2 separate regions of the Homo sapiens genome follow, and region 2 is linked to region 1. The links are contacts of gene promoters, found by promoter capture Hi-C in blood cells and fetal thymus (Javierre and others, 2016). All regions are on one chromosome and are shown on one strand. The core of a region is centred on a gene start or on the middle of the fragment in contact, and the rest is flanking DNA. Distances in the headings are between cores, read along the strand shown. Region 1 holds the start of KRTCAP2 (keratinocyte associated protein 2). Region 2 has its middle 33 kb from the start of YY1AP1.

What was found. Contacts are between HindIII fragments. The CHiCAGO score rates a contact against its expected background, and 5 or more counts as called.
Region 2: a fragment that was not itself captured here is called in contact with the fragment with the promoter of KRTCAP2 in region 1 in 1 of 17 cell types (endothelial precursors); the score reaches 5.3 in endothelial precursors.

Annotation. Positions count from the first base shown.
Region 1 is chr1:155,172,001-155,175,088 of GRCh38, reverse strand. KRTCAP2 (keratinocyte associated protein 2) reads left to right here and starts at 1,785. Exons shown (of 5, transcript NM_173852.4): 1 at 1,785-1,868; 2 at 2,197-2,351; 3 at 2,461-2,524. The coding sequence starts at 1,865. TRIM46 (tripartite motif containing 46) reads right to left here and starts at 1,240. Exons shown (of 10, transcript NM_025058.5): 1 at 1,060-1,240. The coding sequence starts at 1,122. RefSeq lists silencers at 702-996, 1,166-1,255 and enhancers at 1,005-1,513, 1,586-1,635, 1,836-1,935, 1,514-2,022, 2,126-2,405. The HindIII fragment of the contact is 8,946 bases long and covers 1-1,931 here.
Region 2 is chr1:155,653,994-155,656,875 of GRCh38, reverse strand. No RefSeq gene overlaps it. Among named protein-coding and RNA genes, the nearest start is that of YY1AP1, 33 kb to the left of the region's middle. The HindIII fragment of the contact is 1,431 bases long and covers 580-2,010 here.

The DNA.
Region 1 (3,088 bases), core at 536-3,035:
CCTCACCTGCCTCCATCCCCCATCTCTGGGCAGCTTGCCCCTGGCATTTTTCTCAAGGACACCGCCCATTCTGCAGCTCCATGCAGACCCCCACTCCCTTCTCTAGCAGCACCCCCATGCCGTGATTCCTCCCGATAGCCAGGCGAGGTTGGCACTCCATCCTGCTCGCTCCATACGTCCTCCTGCCGCAGCTCCGGCCTGCGGCCACTCCAGCCTCCATTCCCCATCCTTCACTTCCCCATCGGTCTTACCAACCCATTCCCCTTCGCCCCCATCAGGCCCTCCCGCCCTCTCCCGCAGCGCAACCCGGTCAGCGGCACCCCCTTCTCCGAACTAGCGGGGGAATCAAGAGCCCCGCCTACTCGCCCCCTCCCCACCGGAAGTCCCCTCCCCCTCTTGGTGGCGAGAGTGGGGGTCCTCAGGCTATGCCCCACCCCCACACCTCACCTTGGTCCCTCTCTTCGCAGCCATCCCGGTCAGGGGCGCAGCTGACACAAAGGAGGGAGGAACAAGGAGGGGGGGAGGAAGTGGTGGGGGGGAACACGGTTGGCACCGCCCCTGGGAGAGCCAGGCACGGGTTGCCATGACAACCGCAGGCTCGGAAGCAGCCCTGAGTGGGGGTGCGTGGGGTGGGGTCTTGGGGAGGGGTCCAAATTGGGAACTGCACTGTGGGGCGGCTCCTACATCATCCCCCACCTGTCCTCAGTTTTCTTGGAAAATATCCAAGCTCACACGTCCCTCTTCTCATAACAGGGCCTTTCCCCTGAAGCCCCAGCCCCGGTGCACTGCTGGAGGCCACCCCAGCCCACCCGCTGCGTCTGGGCTGCTCCTAGCTCCTCCTCACGCTCCAGCACACCGACGCCTTCACGGCACTCACCTCCGGGCTGCTCCCGGGATTACCCTCTCATACCTGCATCCCGACCCTCCCAGCCGTTTCTGCCATCGCTAGCCCCCTGTCTACATCCCAGCATCTTCCTGGATCCCCACCTGTTCCAGGTCCCAGCTTGCCCCAGAACCCTATACGCCCCCTCCCCTTCCCTCGACCCCACCTTAACTCACACTGATGCGGACCAGTGCGTCCATGATGGAAGTGAAGGTCTGCATATCCTCACCCTCTGCCATGGCCCTACCGTGCCCGCCCGCCCCTGGGTGCCCGATCCCGGCTGCGGCTGCGAACCCCGGGCTTAATGCAGGAGCCCAGTGGGGGTGTGAGGAGGGCTGGGGGTTGAGGTGTCACTGCGCATGCTCCCGGGACCAGCCTCGAACAGCGCCCGTCGGGGTAGGGGGTGGGAAATAGTTCTCCCCACGTGGTTCTCGAAAGCCGGTCGGGGGGTTGGGGAATATGGAAAGGTATTTGACGGGGGAGCCATTTCTTACATTCTCATTTTTCATTGGCTCCTAATTTTACTCATATAAAGCGGGGGATTAGTTTCGGAGGAAAATGAGTTCCTGGTTGGGAGCACTAAATTTTAGGTTGGGAGATGTTGAGGCATGGGGCAGGGAGGTTTGAGGAACGTGCACTAGAGATGAAAGAAATGGCAAAGAAGACAGAGATGGGATAGATGCCACAGGCATGGGCCCAATGACTTAAAGAGATAAGTGCACCTTGTACAGAGTGGCAGCAGACGCACCAGGTACGAGGAAAGCCTGAGGACCAGGGCGGTGGCCGAGGATGCCCCCTCGACGCATTATTTCCTCCCTGTCGCAAGAGGGCGCTGCGTCCAGGCACTGAGAGGAAGAAAGAGGAGAACGCGAGGAGTAGCAAGTCCGCGGTAAGCGCTGACGCATGCGCATAGCTAACCGCACCCGGTTCAGCTCGCCTTTCTTGGCCAGAGGCGCCGGTTGGACTCACGGGCGGGGCATGATGGGTAACAGGACCGGTGGGGTCCCCAGGAAGTCCTAGAGGGGGTCGGGGTTTGGGTGGACAAGCTTTCCTCGTCCTCTCCCGACAGAGCTGACGTGTCCTGGGTTCCACCGGGAGCGGGCATTTCCACCGGACGGGAGGGTTCGGGGTGTCCGGGGCTGGGGAATACGTAGGGGTTGCCGCGCGGTGTGGGGAGTTGGGGCGTGTGGCTGCAGTCCCGGGAGTTCTTGGAGGGGGTCGGCCCACCGAGCTTCCGGACCGGCTGATCTGCCCGTAGCTTGCCGGAGGGAGGGCGGAGCCTGACTCTCCGTCCCTTCTCCCATCCCCTCCAGTGGTGGGTACGGGCACCTCGCTGGCGCTCTCCTCCCTCCTGTCCCTGCTGCTCTTTGCTGGGATGCAGATGTACAGCCGTCAGCTGGCCTCCACCGAGTGGCTCACCATCCAGGGCGGCCTGCTTGGTTCGGGTCTCTTCGTGTTCTCGCTCACTGTATCCTCCCTGCAGTTGGAGGGGGCGGGCCACGTAGGCATGTGCCCTTCCCCTTCCCCACACAGCTCTGTCCCCGTTGCACACCCTACTCCTTAACTCCCTCAACCAGGCCTTCAATAATCTGGAGAATCTTGTCTTTGGCAAAGGATTCCAAGCAAAGATCTTCCCTGAGAGTAAGTGAATATTGGAGCTTGAGTATTTGAACTTTCTCCTCTTTAACCTCCTGAAACATGATATTGAATTTCCAGATGCTTAGGTGAAAGGTTGTTAAGGAGAAATATATTTACTGAAGCTGTCTGAAGACAGATGACGCTTTTCGATTCTGCACCTTGTATAGCTCCTGGAGTTGGAGCTGGAAGAGAAGGCCTTTGAAAGCAAGAAACTTTGGTACCTTCTGGCCAGCTCCCAGGGAAGGTTTGAGGGGAACAGGCAAATTTGGGCTGATGTTTTGCATCTATTCGCTGGGAGGCGGTCCTTGTTCCCACCAGAAGAAGCAGCAGGACCAAGTTCACTATGGAGTTCTGATGTGAAGTTAACTCAATATTAGAGAATTCTACTTATTTGAGGGAATTGTGAAGAGCCTAAATACTAGAGGCACCAAATATCTATGGCAGCAGGAATCCTGACCAAATCAGAATAACTGTTAGATTATTTCCTGTTTGGAATAATTCTTGTTCAATTGCTCATGTAATCAAGAATTGATGATTCAGTTATTTATGGAGAATTAAGTTTATAAA
Region 2 (2,882 bases), core at 46-2,545, 480 kb before region 1:
TAGCCAATCCGCTCCAGCCATTAGGCTCCAAAAGCTATAGATGATGCCACAGACTAATCAAAATCAACTTCTTGATACTGCCTTATGGTGTATAACAATCATGACCTGGAGGAAGGAAAAGGAATAAAGAAGAAGCAAGCCAAAATTACGATAGCCATCATTGGAGATGCCCTGAATGCCCAAAGAGTGCCCAAGGGAATCCCAATGGGCCATAAGGATAATGCCAGCAAAGGCTCTTGCTTCAAATGCAAGAAAAATGGGAATTGGGCAAAGGACTGTAGTAAGCCCCCACTGGGACCCTGTTGGCAGTACAAAGGCACCAGTCACAACCCCTGGTGCTGGAGAATTAACTGCCCCCTGTTACACAGAGGAGGTCAGTCAAAACTCTTAACAGTGCAAAAGGAGAAATTGATGAAAACTGATGGGGCCCAGGGCCTTCCTCACCACCCCTGCCCAGGAACATCATTCATTACTATTGAGGAGCCCTGGGTAACTCTGGACATGTTGGGCACCCAAATTTGGTTTCTTTTTGATACAGGGACAAATTACTTTGCCCTTACTACTTACGTAGGAAAAGCTTCCTCCCCATCCACAAGCGTTATGGGAATGGAAGGAGAGCCACAAAAAAGATTCTTTATTCCTCTTTTGACTTGCCAATTTGAGAAACAAATCTTCCAACAAGAATTTCTAGTAGTAACAAGCTGCCCAGTCCCCTTGTTGGGAGGGGATATTATAGTTAAAATAGGGACACTGCTACGATTTAGGCACCACCCAGCAAAATTGCTAATAGTAATGCAGACAATGTCCCAGACCACATTAATAAATAGGTCAACGCACTAGCATGGTATACTGGGAAACTGGGTAGGGCTAAAACAGAAATACACTTGGACAGTGCCCCTCCCTCAGGGCTTTCAGGATAACCATGTTTGTTTGTTTTTTGCACAAGCCTTGGGGATCTAAGGGATCTAAAATTGGAAAATGGAGTGTACTCTAGTATGTACATGACCTTCTTGTGTGTAGCCCAACCCAGGGGGTGACTAAAATACTATAAGAACCTTAAATTTCTCTGCAGATGGGATATAAAGTGTCCAAAAGGAAGGCTCAGATTGCCCACCAACGGGTTCAATATTTAAGGTGTATCTTAACACCCAGAGCCCAGCAAATATCCCCAGAATGAGTGCAAGCCGTATGTGGTTTGGAGCTCCTCCCACACCAAGCAACAGCTTCGTCGTTTTCTGGGGATGGCTGGGTTTTGCAGAAGATGGGTACCAAATTTTGGGCTCATAGCAAAACCCCTTTATGAAAGCAACAAGGGAGCCAGAAAATGAGCCAATTGAATGGACTTTGGAAATGAGAGAAGGCTTTATCAAGTTAAAACAGGCTCTCAGCCAGCCTCCCGCTCTTAGCATCCTAGACCTCACTAAGCCCTTGTATGTAGCAGAAGGGAAAGGCATAGCCATGGGAGTGCCAACTGCCTACTTCTCAAAGAAATTGGACACGGTGGCCAAGCTGCTTGCCGTCGATGGCAGACACTGCTATTTTAGTGGAAGAAGCCGCTAAAATCACCCTGGGTCAGCCACTGGAAGTATTAACCCCACATCAAGTCAATCCTAGAAATAAAAGGACACAACTGTATGATGGGGGAAAGGTTAACCAAATACCAGGCTATGCTCCTGGAAAATCTAGATGTGACCCTTAAAACCTGTAACACTGTGAATCCAGCTTGATTGCTGCCCACAGGCCCAATAATTAATCATTCCTGCGAGCAAGTTATTGCACATACATATGTTAGCCAGCCTGATTTAAAAGGTTGACCTCTCCCAGATTCAGAGGATGACTGGTTCACAGACCTCAGCAGCTTTATATCAAACGGGAACACTGGGCCAGATATACAACAGTAAATTACAATACAATTATTGAGGTCCAACCCCTGCCCCCAGGTATGTCAGCACAAAAAGCTGAGATCATTGCTCTTACTCGAGTTCTGACATTAGGAAAAGGGAAAAAGCTTAACATCTATACAGATTCCAAACATGCATTTCTCGTGTTTCATGCTCATGCTGCAATTTGAAAAGAAAGAGAAAGAGGACTACTAACTAGTAAATCTTCCACCATAAAGCATGGGTCTGAAATTCTTCAACTGTTGGAAGCAATACACTTGCCAAAAGCATAGCCATAATTCATTGTAGGGGGCATCAAAAGAACCTAACCCCTGTAACACAAGGGCACAGAAAGGCTGATAAGCCAAAGCCGCACTGCTCAGGGTGTAATCCCGACAAATTCTAGCACTGCTTCCTTTCTATGATTCCCCAATAGAACCTGAATATCCCTGTGATGTATTCAGGGATATTCGAAGTAAAGGAGGAAGATGGACACAAACAAGGATCCTGGTGGTATATAGTATCAAAAGTGTATCTCCCTCAAACAGCCCAATGGAGAATTATAAAAATCCTGCATGACTCTTTCCATATGTGAGGAGATGCCACTCTTGCCATGATAAACAGGCTCTTCATTGGGCCTGACTTAACTTCCGTGGTTAAGCAGGTCTGTCAAACCTGTTCACTGTGAGCATTCAACAACCCCAGGAACAAAATGCCTCCTCTAATAGAACCAGTCCGGAGAAGGGGCACTTCCCCAGGGGAAGACTGGCAATTGGATTTTACCCATATGCCAGCTTGTAGGGGATACAAGTTTTTGCTAGTACTAATAGACACATTTACTGGCTTACCCTAGCAGAACAAAGAAGGCTAATGAAGTTATAAAAGTTCTCCTAAGATAAATAATCCCCAGTTTGGGTTACCCCAAAGCCTCCAAGGTGAGAGCAGTATGTCTTTCGTCTCCCAAATAACTAAAAGGGTTGCTAAGGCTCTCAGAATCTAATA